Linked DNA regions of Homo sapiens: all the other regions are linked to region 3. Evidence: promoter capture Hi-C in 16 types of primary human blood cells and fetal thymus (Javierre and others, 2016). All regions are on one chromosome and are shown on one strand. Each heading gives the region's core, a stretch centred on a gene start or on the middle of the fragment in contact. The rest is flanking DNA. Distances are from core to core; before and after follow the strand shown.

Region 1 (2,700 bases), core at 163-2,662, 600 kb after region 3:
GCACTGCCGTCCGGGGGCTTCAGGCCAGCCCTGGGCTTGGCTGCTGTGGGATGACACAGATGGGGGATGCCAGTCAGGGGCACGGGGTGGAAGGGCTGTTGGGGGCCCCAGGATTGGGGGACATGGGGTGGGGATGGGGGGGGTCCCCGGAATGGAGTTGTGTGGGGTGAGGGGACTGCTGAGCCTCTTAGGAGTCAGGGTGTGGGGTGAATGGGCTGTCAGGGGCCCCAGAAGTCGGGGACGTAGGATGGGGGTGCAGGTGGGTCCCAGGGAATGAGGTTGTGTGTGCTGAGGGGGCTTCTGTGGGCCCCAGGAGTGGGGGGCATAGGATGGGGGTGCTGGGGGTCCCAGGAATGGGGTTGTGTGGTGAGGGGGCTACTAGGGGTCCCAGAAGTGGGAGGCATAGGATGGGGGTTCTGGGGGGTCCCAGGAAAGGTGTTGTGTGGAGAGGGCTGCTAGGGGTCCCTGAAGTGGGGGACATAGGATGCGGGTGCTGGGGGTTCCCAGGAATGGGGTTGTGTGTGGTGAGGGAGCTTTCTGGGGGTCCCAGGAGAGGGGGGCATAGGATGGGGATACTAGGGGTCCCAGGCAAGGTGTCGTGTGGGGAGGGCTGCCAGGGGTCACAGAGGTGGAGGTGCAGGATGAGAGAGTCGCTAAGGGTCCCCTGGGTTGAGGTGTGGGTTAAGGGGGTCTATGGAGGATTCCAGAGAGGTGAGGGCCTGGGGTGAGGGTGATTCTGGGGGTCCCAGGAGTGGGGGACATAAGTGAAGGGGCTGCTTCAGGTTCCAGAAGTCAGGAATGTGGGCTGAGGGGGTTGTTGGGCGAGAGGGCTGTCAGGGATCCCAGAGGTGGAGTGCAGGGGAGGGCTGGGATATTTGGGGACCACGTCTTGTGACCCAGGAGCTGAAGGGCCTGCAGAGGGACTGGGTCCTTCTGTGAGAGGACACAGGTGGGACTTTCTGGGGACTAGGGGGTGCGGCCATTGAGATCAGAGCCCCTGGGAGGTCTGAAACCGAATAATCCCTTTCAGGTTTGGGGGTGACAGCACCCTTCGTGGAGAACCCAGGTATCTCAGGGCATATTTCAGGCTGTCCTTGTCACTTGGGGCCATTTCCCAGAATAAGGGCCTCCCTTTCGAATTCAGCTCCATTTTCACGGAAGTGCACCTCCTCAAGCTGGGAGTCGGGACCTCGGATTTGTGGGGAACCTCAGAATGAGGCCACGCCCCGGCACTGGGCTACCTTCTTAGAATCGCGGTCTCCCCTTTAAGGACCTGGAATGGCAGTGCTGAGGTTTGGGGGTGACGGCACCTGAGAAGGGGCCGCCCCTTCTCTGGAGGGCCAATCTGCGTCACCTGAGGGCCCGCCCTTCCTTTCGCCACCCCCACCCCTCCTGGTCCCTAGCGCCACCTCAGCCTTCTTTTGGTTCCGCTTTTTCCCGCCTTTTCGCTCCTCCACAGCTGATTGGCTGCGCCCAAGTCCCGCCCCCTCCCTCTTTCCGCCTACTCAGGAGCTGACACGAGCCGGGGCGTGGCCTCGGCGAACGTTGGACTGCGCGCCGTTGGCGGACTGCGCGCGGGAGCCCTACCCCGCCCCATCCCTCTAGGGAGTCTCGCGTCCACACCGCCCCTTCCCTTTGTAGCAAGCTGACAAGGAGACACTCCTGCGGCGCATGCGTCGCGCCCAAACGAGGCCGGCGGTGGAGAAAGGCAGGCAACGCATGCGTAGTTGATGTAGGGAGTCGGCGGTGAGAAATGGACAGCCCGCATTGACCGAAGCTTTGCGCATGCGTTTTACTGCTGGGTGAAGCCGAACCTCGGGAGCCCAGGACGCCCTCCTGCACATGCGCAGGAGGCTCAATGACAGTCGAGCTTTGGCTAAGGTGAGGGAGAAATCGGGGGATTGCATGGCCAGGGAGGGCGGCCCTGCACCCCCTAGGTAACCTTTACGAGCATTTCCTGCTCTCCTAAGATCTACCTCGCTGTCTAGACCCCAAAGAAACGTTGTACCACTACAGGGTCTCTGGGCCTGAAAAACGCCCCAGAACCTAAGACCTCTGACCCCTGTCTGGGACCCAGGCCAACTGAGCAGTGTGGGAAGGGGACAGGCAACAGGGGCTTTGAGGCGAGCGGATGGGCTCTGCGCCCTGCCTGGGGTAGAGACGGCTTCTGGAGGGTGGGACGTGGAGGTGGAGAGGGCGCTTTTCCTCTAGATGGCCTTTGACCCCTGCCCATTTTCCTCTGTTTAGGCTCCGGGGAAAGGGTCTAGCCATGCTGCATGTGACCCGGGGGGTCTGGGGGTCCAGGGTCCGAGTATGGCCACTGTTGCCCGCGCTCCTCGGGCCCCCCCGGGCCCTCTCATCGCTGGCAGCCAAAATGGGGGAGTATCGCAAGATGTGGAACCCCAGGGAGCCCCGCGACTGGGCCCAGCAGTACCGCGAGCGCTTCATTCCCTTCTCCAAGGAGCAGCTGCTCCGCCTCCTAATACAGGTACCGCCTGTCCCAGGCCCAAGAGCCTGGGGACTACGGCTCCCAGCAGGCTTCGCGGCGGCAGGGCCCTAGTTGCTGCAGAGAGCTGCCCTGGCGCCTCCTGGGAGTTGTAGTTCCCGGGTCCCTTCGTGTTTCCCTAGTGGGCGGGAGATGAGCTGGAATGCAGGAGCCAGGTCTCCGAGATGCAGACGCAGCATCCATTCCCAACTCTG
Region 2 (2,700 bases), core at 14-2,513, 630 kb after region 3:
TTAACTGCACAAAGGAACACAGCCACGGGTGGGTGGCTGTAAGACCCAGCCCATACCCCTACATGTATCCTGGTGTGGGGCTGGGTCAGCCAGAAGAAGGGGTGCCTCCTAATTTTTGCTAACGTGTCATATGGGCTAGAGGCAGCCTTTGGGGAGACAGGGGAAGTCTCCCTCTCTAGGACCCCAAATGTTCAGTCCCTAGAGAGGGAGACTGGGCTGGGCGCGGTGGCTCCCGCCTGTAATCCCAGCACTTTGGGAGGCTGAGGTGGGTGGATCACCTGAGGTCAGGAGTTCAAGACCAGCCTGGCCAACATGGTGAAACCCCGTGTCTACTAAAGATACAAAAATTAGCCGGACGTGGTGGTGGGCGCCTGTAATCCCAGCTGCTCAGGAGGCTGAGGCAGGAGAATTGCTTGAACCCGGGAGGCGGAGGTTGCAGTGAGTGAAGATCGCACCACTGCACTACAGCCTAGGTGACAGAGCGAGACTCCGTCTCAAAAAAAAAAAAAAAAAAAAAAAAGAGAGAGAGGGAGACTGGTTTCCTAGAGGGAAAAAGAAAGCTGTCTTCCCAAATGGAAAGTTAGTAGAAAGAAAAAAGAGTCCAGAACTAGCCGGGTGTGGTGGCTCGTGCCTGTAGTCCCAGCTACTCGGGAGGCTGAGGCAGGAGAATCGCTTCAACCCGGGAGGCGGAGGTTGCAGTGAGCTGAGATCGTACCACTGCACTCCAACCTGGACAGAAAGAAAAAAAGAGTCCGACAATCTAGAAACACACACTATGCCCGGGGTTCAGAGAGAGAGAGCAACAGAGTGACAGAAGCTTGAGCAAGGAGACAGGACTGGTCACTGCAGGCTTCCTATCCTAACAGGGTCTGCTGGGACCCAGAATCCAGGTTCTTCCCAGAAGTGTCTGAAGGTCTAGATTCAGGTGCCTCACAGAGGTCTCTTGGGCCTTGAGCGGGGAAGGCCCAGGCTCTTGGGTCTGTGGGAGGGAAAAGGTGCCTGGGGTCCCGGCTCCTGTGTCCTCGGGAGGAAGGGGTTGGGGGCTGGGAGATGGGCATTCTGAGGGCTGAGCAGCTGGCGGTGGGGACCATGTTAGGTTCAGGAGAGGTCAAGCGTGCGCAGCCTGGGTCCCTGGAGGCGGAAGGAAGGAAGATCAAGGCAGAGCCCGCGGTTAAGGTTTTATTTTTTGGAGGACGCGCGGCGAGGGGGGCCGGGAAGGGGCGGGGGCAGCCGAGCGAGGCGGGGCGCTCACTCCCGCTTCCGTAGGTGGATGTAGATGATGCCGCTGACCAGGGCGAGGGGGAAGGCCACCCAGGCCAGGGCGAAGCAGTATCCGAAGCTGCCCCCTCGCGGGTGCTTCTCCAGGATCTCCTCGGCGTGAATGGCATAGATCAAGGCGCCAGTAAACACCGCCACGCCTGCGGAAGATGAAAACCACACGTCATGCAGTGCCCCCTCAAGACTACATTTCCCAATATCCCATGGGGGCAAAGAAGCGCCGGAGGGCCCGTGGGCAGCGCCGCTGCCTGCTGGGAGTTGTGGTTCTTTCCCCCCCGCCCAGCGCCGTGCAACTGTAGCGCGGCCTTAGGTAACTGATTTAATCTCTCTAGGTCCAATAATATCTCTCTATCCATCCAAGGAATATTTTTGAGTGTGTTTCTATAAGCCAAACATGCAGTAGTAAATTCATAAACCAAGAGAGAAGCTTTGCAAGAACCTATAATGTTCCCCAAACTGACTGTGATTAAGTTAGCCCTTTGCACCTTAAGTCAAAAAATTAAAAAGTACGCAAAACTTCTTGAAGTATCTGATGCACAATAGGCACGCAAGAAACAGCGGTTGGCTGATATAAATACCATTATTATTATGATTTAGAGCTCTCTACTGAGGTACTAATTAGTTTATCCCCCCACGTCACGGCCGATCCCTGGGACCAAAACTATTTACCTATACCTCCTTCCCCAGCCCCGGCTCCCTGAAACTCTGAGTTCCCTGATGACTCATACGCACAAGCCATAACTATCATTAGCCACTGAAAACTACAAGTCCCAGCAATCCCTGGGGGCAGAGATGTAGCCCACGGAGGCACCTCTTGTGGCTCGTGGGGTGTTGAAAGTTGTTTTTTTCTACGAGAGGCCCATTCTCAGGGCCCCCAGCATCTTGACACACCCCACTCCCTTCTGCTCAATTCTTGGGGGATTAGGGTTGGGGAGGGGCAGTGCTCACTGGTGCAAAGCTGGCAGAGGCCGGTGGCATAGAAGAGACCTCCTCGTCGCATGGTGTAGAGCTGGAACATGAACAGGATGAAGGAGAGACAGCAGAGAATGAGGGAGAGCACCATGAGGACCTGCACCGCCTTCAGCCAGCCTGCAGTAAGGAGGACACAGAGGGGGACATCACCGTGGGTCCAGAGTTCCAGCTTCACCTGCTTGCTCACCATGTGACCCTTCTCTGCCCCATCCCTGCTCCCGTTTAGGCCCATACAAGCCTAGATACTTAGATGTATCACTTATTTTGACCTTGAGCCCTGTTACCTTGCTATATTCCCTTCTCAGTTCTAGTAGTTGCTTTGCCAATTTCCTTTTTCTTTTTTTTCTGAAACCAGGTCTTGCTCTGTTGCCCAAGCTGGAGTGCAGTGGTATAATCATGGCTCACTGCAGCCTCGTCCTTCAGGGCTCAAGAAATTCTCTCACCCCTGCC
Region 3 (2,700 bases), core at 53-2,552:
GGAAGTGAGTCTCCAGGAAGTCACAGAGCTGAGAGAGAAGAGGGAGAAATTAGAAACCCAATCCCTGGAAAAGAGGGGGAGAGAGCAGCCAGTTGCAGATTAAAATGTGACAGGTGTGAAATGAGGCTCTGAAGGAAATTTGCCCAAAGGGAGCAGAGGCTTGAGGGGTATGGTTGGGTAGCCATGGATGCAGCGGGTACGTACATGGGGGTCCGTGCGGGCAGAACCCAGGGCATGAAGATCCAAAAGGGCCTGGTTCAGCTTTTTCTCCAGGGCCATGGCAGCTTTCATGGCGTCTGGGGTTTTACCCCACTCATCTTCAGCTGGCTTCTATATAGAAGGGAGAAATGGCTCAGAATACACACACTCGGCACATAGAACTAAACCTACATTTCCCAAGAGTCGTTGGGGGTCAGAGGCCCAGGCCACAAAGACATGTGACAGCTTGTATTTATCACTCTCCGCACCCTGTCCTAGCTCTTACAGCTATACGTCCCTAAGACCACGCAGCGGTGTGGACTGCCGCGTGTTGTGGGCACTGCACGAGGTGCGCCTCTATTTCCAGCGGTTAAGAGGGCTCACAAGACCGAACTCAATCTCCCAGAAGCCCACGCGACACCTACGCCCTCAAATCAAGGCTCCTCGCGCGCACGGCCTGCTGGGAGATGTAGTCCATTACCCACACACTAGTTACCTTGATGTCCTGGAAGAGAGCGCGGCCGCCACGCTGGTTTTGCATCTTCAGGAGACGCTCGTAGCCCTCGCGCTTCTCCTCGGCCAATTCGCGGAAGAAGTGGCTCACGCCTTCCAGAGCCACATCATCGCGGTCGAAATAGAAGCCCTACGGGAAGAGATGGAGGCAACAATGGTTAGCGGGAGGCGAGGCCAAGGGGACTCCGCCCTCTGTTTACCCGACCGCACAAAGAAGGCTGGCGCGTGCAGTGAGGGCCGGAGGTGCGCAGCTGGAGGAAATTAGGGCCAGGGGCGTCCTGGGGACTCACCAGAGAGAGGTAGGTGTAGGAGGCCTGCAGGTACAAATTGACCAGGCTGTTGACGGCTGCCTCCACGTCGGTGGAATAATTCTGACGAATCTGGGAGCTCATGGTTGGTTGGCAAGAAGGAGCTAACCACAAAAACGGTGCTGGCAGGTCCCAGAAGCAGGAGATGGCCGAGAAGATGGTCCCGGAGGTTGCAAGCGGAGAGGAAATCGGAGGGCGGTCGGAGGCTGGAAGAGAGTCCCCGGATCTGTTCCGTCCAAACACTGTTGAAGCAAGAGACAGACCCGCGGGACCGCCGAACTGCGAGGGGACGTGGCTAGGGCGGCTTCTTTTATGGTGCGCCGGCCCTCGGAGGCAGGGCGCTCGGGGAGGGCTAGCGGCCAATCTGCGGTGGCAGGAGGCGGGGCCGAAGGCCGTGCCTGACCAATCCGGAGCACATAGGAGTCTCAGCCCCCCGCCCCAAAGCAAGGGGAAGTCACGCGCCTGTAGCGCCAGCGTGTTGTGAAATGGGGGCTTGGGGGGGTTGGGGCCCTGGGGCTGATTCTGGAAATGCAGGGGTTCGTGGGCGGGAGGGTGGGGGCTGGGGTCCCTCTGGGAGGCTAGAGTTTTATGGGAGCACTAACAGCCCTGTGAACTGATGACCCTGGGGTCCTGGGGTGCCTCGGGAAAGTAAGATTCTGGGGTTTCCGAGGGCATGGATTTTTCTGGAACCTTGAGTGGGGGGAGGGGCACCTCAAAGGTGCAGGGAGGACCTGTAGTTGCCTGAGGTTTGCGCTGCGAGATAAGGAGTCTCCGGATCCTTGGGAAGCTTGGAAGGCTGTGAGGTGTTATTTCTGGACCCCTGGAGATCTCTGGAAGATGGAGTGTTGCGGGGACTGGAGTCCTGGGATTTACAGGGGTGGGGGTTCACGATGCAAACTCTCTATATTTTGGAGCCCTCCCCGGGGAAATCTTTAGGTTCTTGAGGTGCTCTGCAAGTTGGAAAGGGCAGTTATTCTGGAGCCGTGGGTTTCACCCAGTGCGGGAAGCCCAGGAGGAGCATTGTATGAGGTAGGGTGACTTCTGGAACCCTGGACAGCCCTCTGGAACCCTCCAAAGATGGGCTGGGACTTTGGGGATACCTTGGAGCTCTTTCAGGGGCCCAGGCTTTTTCTGGGAGTGGAAATGGGGAGGAATGAAAAGTCTGTTTTGAGCTTTGCGGTGTCTCTGGGATTGCATTTCCTGGAGGCTGTTTTGGAGACAACTCACAGACTTCGAGAATTCTCCGTGGCCCTGAACAGTGTCTCTGAAGTTGCCCTCGTGTCTTGCCTGACGTGTGCTCCTTCAGGCCCACAAAGAGAAGCCCTGCGTTGTGGACAAACAGTCTGGGGACCTATGGACGAGACGTCTGTCTTCGACTAATGCATATTTTTTAAGTGGGCCTGGTCCACGTTGATTTCTGGGAGACGGAGTCGGCGCAAACCTTGACTCTACTTAAGTGCCCTGATGGAGGCAGCCCGTGCGCTGGGCAGGGAGCTGAAGCCACTGGGGTGTGGGGTGAGGTCAGGCCCTGCCCTACAGAGGAGCTGCTCCGAACAGCCCAGGCGGGGCAGCCCCTGACCGAGGGGATCTGCAGATGCCCCGCCAGGCCGGTATCTGGGGTCCTTGTTGCAGGCAGCGACTGCTGAGTCATGCTGAGCTCAGCGCGGGAAGGGGCCCCCGC

Evidence for each region. Contacts are between HindIII fragments. The CHiCAGO score rates a contact against its expected background, and 5 or more counts as called.
Region 1: the fragment with the promoter of SYNGR4 here is called in contact with the fragment with the promoter of FTL in region 3 in 2 of 17 cell types (fetal thymus and naive B cells); the score reaches 7.3 in fetal thymus.
Region 2: a contact is called between a fragment that was not itself captured here and the fragment with the promoter of FTL in region 3, in 1 of 17 cell types (fetal thymus). The highest score is 5.3, in fetal thymus.

Annotation. Positions count from the first base shown.
Region 1 is chr19:48,363,079-48,365,778 of GRCh38, reverse strand. It overlaps SYNGR4 (synaptogyrin 4), which reads right to left and starts at 1,412. Exons shown (of 5, transcript NM_012451.4): 1 at 1,242-1,412; 2 at 1-43. TMEM143 (transmembrane protein 143) reads left to right here and starts at 1,839. Exons shown (of 8, transcript NM_018273.4): 1 at 1,839-1,881; 2 at 2,248-2,488. The coding sequence starts at 1,859. RefSeq lists enhancers at 1,118-1,267, 1,638-1,757, 2,238-2,287. The HindIII fragment of the contact is 5,293 bases long and covers 1-1,779 here.
Region 2 is chr19:48,329,019-48,331,718 of GRCh38, reverse strand. EMP3 (epithelial membrane protein 3 (MAM blood group)) reads right to left here. Exons shown (of 5, transcript NM_001425.3): 4 at 2,227-2,367; 5 at 1,166-1,418. The coding sequence ends at 1,249. Among named protein-coding and RNA genes, the nearest start is that of EMP3, 4.8 kb to the right of the region's middle. RefSeq lists an enhancer at 2,168-2,317. The HindIII fragment of the contact is 888 bases long and covers 820-1,707 here.
Region 3 is chr19:48,963,911-48,966,610 of GRCh38, reverse strand. It overlaps FTL (ferritin light chain), which reads right to left and starts at 1,302. Exons shown (of 4, transcript NM_000146.4): 1 at 1,002-1,302; 2 at 695-841; 3 at 205-330; 4 at 1-28. The coding sequence starts at 1,103. RefSeq lists enhancers at 1,013-1,062, 2,612-2,700, a silencer at 1,313-1,472 and a cis regulatory region at 2,403-2,700. The HindIII fragment of the contact is 1,823 bases long and covers 1-1,808 here.